Linked DNA regions of Homo sapiens: region 1 is linked to region 2. The links are contacts of gene promoters, found by promoter capture Hi-C in blood cells and fetal thymus (Javierre and others, 2016). All regions are on one chromosome and are shown on one strand. Each heading gives the region's core, a stretch centred on a gene start or on the middle of the fragment in contact. The rest is flanking DNA. Distances are from core to core; before and after follow the strand shown. Region 1 has its middle 52 kb from the start of KBTBD8. Region 2 holds the start of ARL6IP5 (ARF like GTPase 6 interacting protein 5).

Evidence for each region. The method cuts DNA at HindIII sites, captures the fragments that hold promoters and counts their contacts. A CHiCAGO score of 5 or more calls a contact.
Region 1: a contact is called between a fragment that was not itself captured here and the fragment with the promoter of ARL6IP5 in region 2, in 1 of 17 cell types (total B cells). The highest score is 10.3, in total B cells.

Annotation. Positions count from the first base shown.
Region 1 is chr3:67,047,011-67,054,053 of GRCh38, reverse strand. No RefSeq gene overlaps it. Among named protein-coding and RNA genes, the nearest start is that of KBTBD8, 52 kb to the right of the region's middle. RefSeq lists a silencer at 5,894-5,953. The HindIII fragment of the contact is 3,970 bases long and covers 219-4,188 here.
Region 2 is chr3:69,080,070-69,086,186 of GRCh38, reverse strand. ARL6IP5 (ARF like GTPase 6 interacting protein 5) reads right to left here and starts at 1,250. Exons shown (of 3, transcript NM_006407.4): 1 at 964-1,250. The coding sequence starts at 1,139. UBA3 (ubiquitin like modifier activating enzyme 3) reads left to right here and starts at 5,822. Exons shown (of 18, transcript NM_003968.4): 1 at 5,822-5,853; 2 at 6,034-6,075. The coding sequence starts at 5,834. RefSeq lists enhancers at 1,170-1,479, 3,087-3,246, 4,051-4,110 and silencers at 5,714-5,783, 5,904-5,993, 6,114-6,117. The HindIII fragment of the contact is 15,418 bases long and covers 1-2,096 here.

The DNA of each region.
Region 1 (7,043 bases), core at 954-3,453, 2.0 Mb after region 2:
CAAGGAATAAGAGAGGACACGAACAAATGGAAAAACATGGATAGGAAGAATCATGAAAATGGCCATACTGCCCAAAGTAATTTACAGATTCAATGCTATTCCCATCAAGCTACCTTTGACTTTCTTCACAGAATTAGAAAAAACTACTTTAAATTTCATATGGAACCAAAAAAAAAGCCCATATATCCAAGACAATTCTAAGCAAAAATAACAAAGCTTCATGCTACCTGACTTCAAGCTATATTACAAGGCTACAGTAGCCAAAACAGCATGATACTGGTACCAAAACCAGATATATAGACCAATGGAACAGAACAGAGCCCTCAGAAATAACACCAAGCATCTACAACCATCTGATCTTTGACAAACCTGACAAAAATAAGCAATGGGGAAAGGATTCCCTATTTAATAAATGGTGTTGGGAAAACTGGCTAGCCATATGCCGAAAACTGAAACTGGATCCCTTCCTTACACCTTATACAAAAATTAACTCAAGATGGATTAAAGAGTTAAACGTAAAACCTAAAACCATAAAAACCCTTCCAGGAAACCTAGGCAATACCATTCAGGACATAGGCATATGCAAAGTCTTCATGGCTAAAACACCAAAAGCAATTACAACAAAGCCAAAATTGACAAATGGGTTCTAATTAAACTAAAGAGCTTCTGCTCAGCAAAAGAAACTACCATCAGAGTGAACAAGAAACCTACAGAATGGGAGAAAATTTTTGCAATCTATCCATCTGACGAAGGTCAAATATCCAGAATCTACAAGGAGCTTAAACAAGTTTACACGAAAAACAAACAAACAACTCCATCAAAAAGTGGGCAAAGGATATGAACAGATACTTCTCAAAATACGACATCTATCTGGCCAACAAACATGGAAAAAAAGCTCATCGTCACTGGTCATTAGAGAAATGCAAATCAAAACCACCATGAGATACCATCTCATGCCGGTTAGAATGGCGACTATTAAAAAGTCAGGAAACAAAAGATGCTGGCAAGGCTGTAGAGAAATAGGAATGTTTTTACACTGTTATTGGGAGTGCAAATTAGTTCAACCATTGTGGAAGACAGTGTGGCGATTCCTCAAAAATCTAGAACCAGAAATACCATTTGACCCAGCAATCCCATTACTGCGTATACACCCAAAGGATTATAAATCATTCTACTATAAAGACACATGCACACGTATGTTTATTGCAGCACTATTTACAATAGCAAAGTCTTAGAACCAACCCAGATGCCCATCAATGATAGACTGGATAAAGAAAATGTGGCACATATATGCCATGGAATACTATGCAGCCATAAAAAGAATGAGTTCATGTCCTTTGCAGGGATATGGATGAAGCTGGAAACCATCATCCTCAGCAAACTAACACAGGAACAGAAGACCAAACACCTCATGTCCTCACTCATAAGCGGGAGTTGGGCAATGAGAACACATGGACACGGTGGGGGACCATCACACCCTGGGGCCTGTTGGGGAGTGGAGGGCAAGGGGAGGGAGAGCAGTGGGAGAAATACCTAATACATGTGGAGCTTAAAACCTAGATGATGGGTTGATGGCTACAGGAAACCACCATGGCACATGTATACCTATGTAACAAACCTGCATGTTCTGCACATGTATCCTAGAACTCAAAGTAAAATTTAAAAAAAATAAGGTTAAAAAAATAATAATTAAAAAAAATTTATCCCAACTCTGATTAAGGACCTGTTAAGGCTGCATCTGTGTTTTTCTTATTGGCTCTACTGATAAGTTAACATACTGTTATCATAGGATGAATTATTTTAATATATTGGCTAATTCTATTGCTAATTATTCTTTTTTAGTGCACCCTATACCTATAAGTGAGAAAAAGCTATAGAAACATTTTAATGCCATCTTTGACACATGTAGATTTCAAGGTTTGCTAGCTTTGGAAAATGACCTGGGTAGCTTTCCATATTTTTCTGTGGTGGGGAATCATATATATATATGTATATATATATATGTGTGTATATATATATGTGTGTGTGTATATATGTGTATATATATATGTGTGGGTATATATATGTATTTCGTCTTAAATAATTCACTCATAATACTATTCGATGCAAGAGCCTTTGATACCATCCTTAATTTTTCCCTTGTTTGCCTTTTATTTGGGTTTCCTATTTCTTCTTAAGTTTTATATGTATATTTTTAAGAAGATTTATTTCTTTTTTTGTTTTCAAATGTGTTCACATACCAGTGTGTGTATTAGTCTCTTTTCATTTTTACTTCTCTATTTCTTTCTGTAGGTATGCCTTTTTTATTTCTAATATCACTTATTAGGTTTTATTGTTTGTTCTCTTTAATGTTCTAGAAATTTTTCTATTTTCTTTGTTTTTCTAAAGACCCAGTTTTGAAAGTATTGATTTCTACAATCATCTTTGTTATTTCCTTCAGCTACTTGCCTCAGGTTTTATAGGAATTATTCTGAATTAACTCTTGAAGTAAGTGCATTAAAGACAATCAATTTTTGTCTAAAGAACATATTGGCCATATTCTATAAGTCCTGCTATGTAATGTTTAGCTTTTTTATTTTTTAAATCAGTTTTTTAATTTTAAAAAAATTTTTATCAATTGTTATTTTGGAAAATAAAATATTTTAAGTAGTTCAAATTTTTAGTTTTGAGCATCTATCGTTAATTTATCTTTAAAGTGTACAGCTATTATTTTATTGCTTAGTTATGAAATGATTAAAATAAGCAGAAAAAATACAGAAGATAATATAATATATATTTATGTCCTCATTACTCCAAATGATAGATGTTAATTTTGCCATGCTTGCTTCAGCAATTGTTTTTATGAAATAAAATATTACAGAGAAGAGTGAATGTCCTCTTTTCTTTCCCCTATTCCAATCCCCTCCATGTTTCTCTCTCCAAAGATGACCTCTATTCTGATGATGGCTTATATCTTTCCTGTCCATATTTGTATATTTTTCTGCATAAACTATATCTTAATATTTTTATACAAGTTGAATAATAAACATTGTGAAACTTGCTCTTCACTGAACATCATATTTTGATATGTATTGGGTATATTTATTCATTTTAGATACCATATAGGATTTTGTCATTTATGTGGCCATTCATCTAGTTGTTTCCATTGCTGTAATGAATACCTTTATAATGTCTCCTTATGCATATGTGCAAAAGTCAAGGAATATACCTGAATGTGGATAGGTTTATTTTCTTTACCAAGTGTTACCAAATTGCTTTCCCAAGTGGTTTTACCAATTTATACTTCTGCCAGAAGTTTATGAAAATTCCCTCTTTCTCTACAAGCTAAAACCTGGTATTAATAGACTTGTAAATTTTGAAGTATAAAATGTGGTCATTGTTGTTTTAGTTTGAATTCCCCACATTCCTAGTGAGGTTGGACATCTTTTAATATGTTTATTTGAGTTTTCTCATCTGTGAATTACCTGTTCATATTATTTGCCCATTTTTTAATTGCGTTGTCTTCTTATTGACTTGTAGGAGTTTACAGTTTCTAGATAGGAATGCTTTTTCTTATAAGTCTTGAAATATCTTTTTCCCTTTTGTCGTCATTTTTTAACTTAGTTTACAGTGTCTTTTTTTACATACAAGTTTTTAATTTTCATGTGTCAGATTTACCAATCATTTCTCTTGTGATCTGTTCATTTTTGCTCCAGTGCTATCTAAATCCATGTTTGTATTGCTATAAAGGAATACCTAAAACTGGGTAAGTTGTTAAGAAAAAGAGCTTATTTCGCTCACAGTTTCACAGCCTGTACAAGAAGCATGGCATCAGCATCTGCTTCTGGTGAGGGCTTCAGGCTGCTTCCGCTCATAATGGAAGGTGAAGGGGAGTTGGCATGTGCAGAGACACATGGAAAGAGAGGAAGCAACGGGGTGGCAGGGATGTTCCAGGCTCTTTTTTATCTTTATTTTTATTTTATTTTTTCACCAGGCTCTTTTTTGTTCTTATGGGAACTAATAGAACAAGAATTCACACATTATCTCAAGGATAACACCAGGCCATTCATGAGGGATCCACTCCCATGACTCAAACACCTTATTAGGAATCACATTTTAATATGAGATTTGGAGGGGTCAAACAACCAAATCTTAGCAAATGACACAAAAATATTCCCCTAACTCCTTTTAAAAAATTGCGTAGAAGCTTTGCTTTTCACATGTAAGTCTTTCACCCACCTGAATCATTTTTTGTATATTGCATGAAGCAAAATGAGGGAGAAAGAATGGATAAAATCATTAGTCCTCTATACTTCCTGTCAAAGATGAGACAGCCTATGTGCCTTACCTTTGAATAGAATGTCTGATTAACCATGCTAACTCATGCCTTCAAATTTTGTGACAATTTCACCTGCTCCACTTATTTCAGGGCTTTCTAATGTAAATAAAGAAGATTTTGTTTTTCTGGAAGTTGCAATATATGGCAAAGCACTTCTTTTTTCCTATGTGATAAGTAAGATGGGAAATAGTAAATGGAAGAAAAAAATCAACTCTATCAAGGCTGTTGCTTTGCTGCAGTCAACGGGGAGCTATATTGGAACTGAAGAACTGATCAGCAAAGAAAGAATGGGAAAAAGATAAATGTGTTGTCACTTGAGTCAGATAATCGTAGTTTGACTACTATTTAACTTCAGTTTAATGTGGCTTAATTTTTTTTAAGCAATGTGAGTTTCCAGAATGAAAGTCACACTCAAGTATATATGTATAAGTACACTCCAAAAACAAGAATAAATAATTATTTCAATTTTTCCCACTTGGATAAATGGGCATTCTTCTTATCCTTTATTAGGATAGCAGTAAGTAATAATTAGTTATTTAGCAGAGCCTTCTATTTGTACATTGGTGAAAAATGGGGTTTCTACAATACCAGGAACATGCTAACACAGCTTTTTCCCATATCTGGTTATGTGAATGGATTTACTTAATAGATATTTCTTAAGTGTTTTCTATCCAGCTAAAACATATCTGAACAAGAAGGCAGAACTTGCCTGACTAAATCTGGCTGTCCAGCAAACCCTTTAGTTGTATGCAACTCCAATGCAGTAGTGTGTCTCCCTCGCACCTAAGCTAATGAGTCCTCTGAATTACCCTCTTTCTGAAGTCATTTTTGGCTTCTCATGTCACTATCCACCATGCCAGATAGTGCTACACCACTTCAGGAGCCTAGCTTGGTCAATAGAATACAGAGACAAAAAAATGCAAATACAACATCGTACCTATCGTCAACTATAATTGTACACTTAAATATTTGCTAAGAGGGTAGATCTCATGTGAAGTATTTTTACCAGAATTAAATAATTTTTAAAGGATTTATGCCCATTAGTTCTTTCACAGATTAACATAAGGACAAAACAGGAAGAAGGTGGGAGAGTGCAAATACAGCTCTCACAACAAGCCTATAATTAGGGGAAGTGAGAGTTGTGATATTATCTTTCACAGATTGCTTGAAAAATTATCATAATGAGGGAAATGTAAGTAAAGGTCAAGACTGAGGAAGGCTAAAATCATTTACATGAATGCTTTAGAAGAAGCTGACTTATTTTACATTGCCTACTTTTGGAAAGGAGTTGCTAAATAGAGTTTATTACTCTTCTAAAGTACAGTAACAGGAAGAAGAACAAACTGAGATATGAAGACAATTTTTTTTTATTATGAGCTGACTTTATTTTTTTATTTTTTTTATTATACTTTAAGTTTTAGGGTACATGTGCACATTGTGCAGGTTAGTTACATATGTATACATGTGCCATGCTGGTGCGCTGAATGGATTTCATTTCATGAAATTGACACAGGAAGTGAAAGTTGTAATCAGGCTATAATTATAGACCCTGGTAGTTTGCCTTTTAAGTGAATTCAGTTATGTAAAGGATACATGTGTTAATGATTTTTACGCTTCTGACAGATTACCAGCCTCCTAAGTTAAGGTGCTATATCTTTTTCAGTAATTATTACTATTCGTGACATCTTAAATAAAATACCTTTAGTTGATACAGACCAGTGGTAAAATTAACTAAAGACCAAACCAGAAAAATACACTGTGAGACAGCTTTAGAAAATGCCCTATTATTTACTTATAGAAGGTTTAACTTTACTTTTTTTTAGAAAAGAAATTCAGCCTTTTGTGATAACAATTTAAAGACATAATGTCATAGCACAGCATTCTGAAGAAGTGAATTTAACACAATTATATTATACAAGCTTGGGATTCATATTGATTTATTAGAATTATATGAAACCTATCCTCTGAAGAGCTCCAACATGCCCTAATTGAACTCCAAGAATTTGTCTGATAACTCTCTCTTGGGAAAATTAGATGAAAGCTTGCCCTAGGAGTGATTAAGAGATTTATGGGATTTATACACCAACATGAAAGCTCAGGATTTTAGGCTTGTAGTAATTGTTTCCAATCCTAAGTCCCAAAACTCTGACTCTACTATTGAGATATCTTAAAAGCTATTTCAAAATGTGCTTCAGGAGTCACACAATGTTGTTTAATTCAAACATGACTTTATACTTTTTTTGATGTGATTTATACTGTAACACACAAACACACAAACCAACTTGTTCAAAAGTGCTAAATACCAAATGTTAACACATTGGAGAGCATTAATGCCTGATCTTTCGCTGTCAGGCACAAATTTCAAAATAATATTTGCTTGGACATCTCTTTCCATACAATTGAACTTCTTATAAATGCAATATTAATTTTTTGAAATACATGTAGCTTTTCATACGTGGCTTTTTATTAATTATTCATGAGTGTGATATCTGTCACATTTGATTATACATTTTACATCAGCTTCTTTGTCTTGACAGTAATTTTTACAACATAAATAACATTTGTAAGGCTGTTCAGGTTGTAGTTATACCATCCTTAGTAATGAAACAAAATTTTGGACTTAATATGAAAAGCAAAATCCATTTTACTACTTGAAATTTTAAGTGACTCTATATTTTATAGACAAACATTGAAGTATACAAGATTTTTTTAAAACACCACTTAC
Region 2 (6,117 bases), core at 1-2,500:
TTTCTCCCAAGCCAGCTTGCTGCTTCTTCCCTCTACGTCTGCCCTGAAATAGAAATGTCAGACATTTAAGTGCAAGTGAGTCCTTTATAAAGTCTGAGGGTGGCTTTTTCTTTAAAGATGTGTAGGAGATAATCAGCAAGATTGAGAATATCACCACCCATCCTGCATAAGCGAGAGAAGCATTTCTTAAAGGGTGAACTAGAAGGAAAGGTGGTTTCTAGGAAAGCAGGTGTACATGCAGTCTCAACACAGGATACTTTGTTAAGTATCAGGTATTGAAAAGGCCTTCTGATACATTGAAACCTCAGGCTAGGAAGCGAAGACAGAGAAAGTGACCACGCCTGGCCACTGCTGGAAGAAAATGCCAGAAGGCCATCTTCCCACAGTCATGGCAGCCTTTACCCCACAATGGGAGATGCGCCACCAGGAGACACCCCCCCTTTTGATCCCAAGCTCAGCTTTACTGTACAGTGTGGCAGGCATTAGGCAGAGAAAGCAGCAAAGTGCGTCGCCACTTGGTTGCCCTTTTTACACTAGCCCGGGTCCACACCCTGCCGCCCCAGCCAGCTCCAGGGTAGGGTTACACCACTTTCCTTTTTCTTCTTATTTTTAAAAGACGAGGGCGCTACAAATATCTTTCCAGCAAGAGCCCGATCCTGGCACGCGGGCGGGGGCAGGGGGGTGGGGGAACTCTCATTTTTCTTCCCTGCGGCTGGCAAATTTTCCCCGTCCTCTTTCCCCTAGGGCCCCCCTCAAGTCTCAGCCCTTGGTGCAGAAAATGGGGCCCCAGGTTACTGCGGCCTCGCCCTGCAAACAAGTTTCCACTGGCTTGGCCGCTTGCAGAATTGCCAGGGCAGGCGCTGAGCGTGGTCAGAGAGCGTCTCTACATCCCGGGATCTTGCACCCCGAGGCCCCTCCGTGCTCGCCCCGGATCGGTGTCCCGGGTAGGGGGACCCCACTTACCCCACAATGGAAATCATCATGGCAGCCACCACCAGGTAGTTGGTCTGGTAATAGAGCAGGTTGCTCACTACGCGGTTGTTCCATTTGGAAATGTCCCTGAAGTCCGGCCGGGCAAAGCGATCGGAACCCGGGAAGAAATCGTCCCAGGCGCGGAGTGGGGCGATATTAACGTCCATGTTCTCAGCTTTGCGTTCTTCGCCTCCAGAATCTGGCGGCGGCGGCGGCGGCAACCGATCAGCTGAGCTGAGTTGGAGAGTTGACAGCGGCTCCGTCTCGGTCGGCTTTGCGGTTGGCAGACAGCAGAGCAAAGGAAATTGGGAGTGGGCGGGCGTGTTTGCTCCTCTTTACTTCTTCATTGGCTCTTGGTTGGGTACAGGAAAACAGGAACCTCCAGACAGAACAAGGGACTGAGTGCAGAATAGAGACGAAATGACAGAAAGCAACTAGCGGAAATCCCCTGTCTGAAGGGAGGTGGCAATGCCTTCTCTAGCAGCAGAGAAGCTGCCTCCTTCGAAATACCTTTTTTGAAGGTTTACCTAGGAGTGTGTTCTCTGACTTAGAGAAAAATTTTGGCAGCTGTGCAGATGCCAATCTAAGTGAAATGAAATGGAAGGCGACTACAGTGTTAATGGAGAATGAGCTGCTTTTGAAAACTAAGTCTTACTAACCTCTACACATCTGAATGCAATTCCCATGTTTTCTCTGTTTCACCATGAGTCACTATGTGTGAAATCAGATTGGCAAAACGGGAAAGAAGGTCATGTAGAACAGAAGGGCTGGTCTGTTTTTTTCACTTCTCTTCTTTGTTCTCCACCTCTGTTCTCTCTAGGCTAAATTGTTGGACTGCTATGCCATTCTGATAAAGTAGGCACTCTGGCCACTTCAGTCCTGAGCTGGGCATGTTGCTTACATTTTAAAGCAAACAGTTGTCTGCAGTGAACTAGTTGTTCTGCATCCAGCATTTTCTGGGCAGAAATATGCATTCCACTTCAAAAGTTTTCTTAGTTTTATTGCAATATTTGGTGACAGCTTTCACTGAGGGACCACAATATATTCATAGATAACGTGATGTTTTGTATCCCAGCCCAAAGACCTGGCAAAAGAAGTATTCGTTGTCAATTCTCTTCTAAGCTTCCAAGGGTCATCTTTTTTCAGTTAAGGGGCTGATTGGTACAATGCATGAGAAAAAAAGTAGTTTGTTTAATTGTATAATGTAATAGGTAGAATTCTAAGGTGAAGATTTCTAAGATAACAGAGTCTCTAAGCCCCTAAGTGGCTTAGACAAGGTGAATTCACTCTACTCAGATCACCAATTTTTGAAAACTTGGAAAGTAATGAAATATACTAATGCAAAGTCTAGAAAACATAATTTAATTTTCCTTATTAATTCAGAAGACAGTTAAGGAGCTTACAGCGACTCTAAGAAATTACTACTACTACTGTTGTTTAGGAAAATTTGGTGATTGCATGGAATTAGTGCTAAGATATATCTTATGTGCTGCTTTTTGAATAAAGTTTAAAATGTGAAAATATTCCTGAGTGCTCATGTTTTCTTGATTCTGGAAAAATGGGATGGTGTGAAGTCAGAGAAAGCAAAATTAGAGTCGCAGCTCCTTCCTCTCTGGCAGGTGACTTTGGAGAAACTACTTAATCTCTCCCAGCCTCGGTGTCTTCATGTGTAAAGTGGGGATAATGGAACATCTGCCATATAGACGAGGCTAAGTGAAGGAATGTATAGGAAATGCTTAGTGTATAATAAAGGTTCACAGTTATATGTTACTATTATTGTTATTAGCAATAGGATAGCCCACGATTCTTGTTTGCTATTAATAGTGCTTTAATCTGATTTGTTTTCTATGCTTTCATTATAAACATCTACTAACTTTTCTCTACCTTGCTCCAACTTTATTGTTGTGGATGTATCTGGGTAGGGGGAAAAGGTTGAGAATATTCAGTACAATGCCAGCAAGTATTTCGAGTTCTTTTGAGGCTCTGTGAAAGCACTGTGGGTTTTTTTTCTTTTCTTTTCTTTTTTTTTTTAAAGAGGAGAAAAATGTAATCCTGCTCTGCCTTCAAAACTTCTGCAATCCAGTGGAAACACTAGTTAAATATGAGACAGTAAGAGGAGTGCTAAATAGAGATGCACTGAGCCTCAGTGCTCAGTTACAGGAAGTCAGAGGGTGTGGAGGAATTCCCCAGGGCTTCAGAATGTCAAGAGGCAGCACTGTGGGCAAGCTGAGTAAATCATCTTGGTCAAGATGAGAGTGGGAACTCCAGTGGGGCCCCACACTGTTGGTGAGATTTATGAGTATTAGAAGCTGTAACTAAGAACTTTATCTTCCAACTGCTCAGAACTGCATGACCAAAAGCTGTCAAGAGTGTATTAGTAACAATATGATTACTCCTTGATCACAGGCAATTGATACCCAAGAAAGAATTAAACCTCTTTAGAGGTTTAAACATAAATAAATAAATTCTGAAAAGACAGAGAAAGCTGTTTATAGCATGATTCCCTTCTGTCTCCCTCCCAAAATGTTAACCCTGTCTCTCTCTTTGGGGTATGGGAGATTTTTTTTTTCTCTAAATATTTCTACCTTTGTTAAATTATTTTAAATAAAAATGAACATGTAATGAGTCATTACTTTTTTCCAGTAACTGTTTGAAATGCTATTAGTAGCAGCTCTTTGTTAGTGTTCATTCCGGGGAGGGAGGGGTCAGATTCACTGTAGAGGTCTTTCTGGAGCTTTAATTTATTATTATTTTTAGAGACAGGGTCTCACTATGTTGCCCAGGCTGGTTTTAAACTCCTGGGCTCAAACAGTCCTCCCACCTCAGCCTCCCAAGTAGCCGGGACTACAGGTGTGGGAAGCCGAGCCCTGCTTGATGGGGCTTTTATAATGGGACTGGTGTGTCTAGATAGGACCATTCAGACTATCTGTCTGTTTAAAAACCATAGCAGATAGTCTAATTGTTTATGATATGTTCCATTTGAAGTAAAATAAATCTGTTGAAGGTTTTGCTTGCATGTCTCTGTTGCTTTCATTCCTGGCAAGGGCAGATGGCTATTTCTAATCCGTCAATCAATCTAAGCCAGTGAGAGTGCCTGGTGTCGTTTATCAAAATACCACCATGGTGAGTCAGGCTGTTAGTCTCAAAGCAAGCAGATGCAGGGCCAGATACCTTTGCAGACTTCTTCATCGGCTAGCTGTACTCTATCCCTAGGCCTCAGTTTCCTCCCCTGTGAAATGGGTGAGACTGGACTAGGTGGCCTTTAAGGTGACTGCTGCTTTTCACTATCTGAGAGGGTTGCAATGCTCACTACCACTAATCAAAGGGTATCCAGTATTGTTGGGGGTTCAGGCTACAGGAGCCCATTTTGATAAGCACTGAGGTTAAATCCTCAGTGAAACCATCTGTGGAGTTGTCTGGGCAAGAAAAAGTAGTTTCATAGTTGACGCTGAGACATGTGATGCAGAAGGAGGCTGGTATCTCTTGATAGGGACTGTGAACTCTATTCCCACGCTCACTGCCTGGCATTGACTTTCAGCTCAGTGAATGCTATTGAACTGAACCTAATTGGGGGACCATAAAGGACAAGCTTTCCTTAAGGTTCACTGAAAACTAGGACAAGAGGAGGTTAAATATCACAGTGTAGTAACAGCAGCTACATTTACTGAGTACCCATCAGGCTTTATGTACTCCATTTCAGTGGCCCTCAAACTTTACCAGTGGAGAATCACCCCAGGCTTTGCAGAAGGCTGAAGGGTGGGGTGGCGGGGGGGCGGTGGGGAGCGTGGTGGGGGCGGTGAGGGGTGAAAATTTGTGTTAAAAAAAACTTCCCAAGTGATGTTGATCAGGAACTGTATTTTGAGAGCCACTCTGGATTTTACTTAATTATCAGTCTTACAAGGTGAATAGTGTTATGCCCACTTTATAAATGAAGAAATAGAAGTGTCTAAGGGTTTCGTAGCTCACAACTGAGAAGAATTTAAAATCAGTTACTTTTGATTCCAAATATCATTCTTGTCCCACTCCATAGAAGGAGATGTGTGTGTACGTGTATATACATACATTTTTGAACATGATCATTTCCCTCTATCCAGCCATCCAGATTCACAGTGTATATTTGTATTTCTGACTCTAGAAGAAAATAATTGAAACTTTTATCACAATTTATCTTTAGGTGATAGGATTATGGGTGTTCTCAGTTATTCTTTGATTTTTGTGATTGTTTTCCTTTATACTTTTTTCTTTGTATCTAAATATACACATTTATCTCAGGAAAAGTTTTAATCATTTTGTTTCCGCTGAACTTATCTAACAGAATGTGACATGAAAATATTAATGCTGATTTGTTCAAAGAAAATAATAATCTCCCACCCCACCAATGTAAACGGATTTAGATAAATTTATTATTCAAGTGAGTACTTATAAAGGCAAAGACTTTGGAACCATCCTGAAAAGCAGAAAGTGAAAATTTCCTTGATCTTTGCCCCCAGAGGAAAGCTCTGGCATACTGGGAGGGTTCTTCACGAATTTTTCATAGAATATACCAATATTTTGTATAATTACGTATTAACATATAGTTTGTGTAAACGCATAATGTATTGTCTACATTTTCACGCTGCAGAGCAACATTATGCACGGTATAAGATTCACCTAATTAAGCGTAGGTAATTAAGATTATAATTACAGGGCAAGACTTTAAAGCCCATGGGAGCCCAGCCGCAGTCAACCTCGCACCTCCCTGCCGGTTGTGTTTCTGGCCTCGCCCCTCCCCGCTTCGCCAGCCCCGCCCCTCCCCGCTTTGCCAGTCCCGCTCCTCCCCGCCCTGCCGCGCGTGGGCACCTGGGAAGAGGCGGAGAACAATATGGCGGATGGCGAGGAGCCGTAAGTACCGGGGCTCTGCAGACGCGCCGGGCTGGGCTGGGTTGTGAGAGAGCGCGGCGGTGGGCGGTTGCCGCCGCCACCCGGGGTCCCCACACCCCCCGCCCCGTCCCCTCGCCCCCCTCCCCTCGCGGCGCCCAGTGTGTAGCGCGATGCTGACCCTTCTTTTATTCTCTCTTTTAGGGAGAAGAAAAGAAGGAGAATAGAGGAGCTGCTGGCTGAGAAGTTAGTGCTGCCGGGAGGCCGGGGCCCTCTCCGGGGACCCCC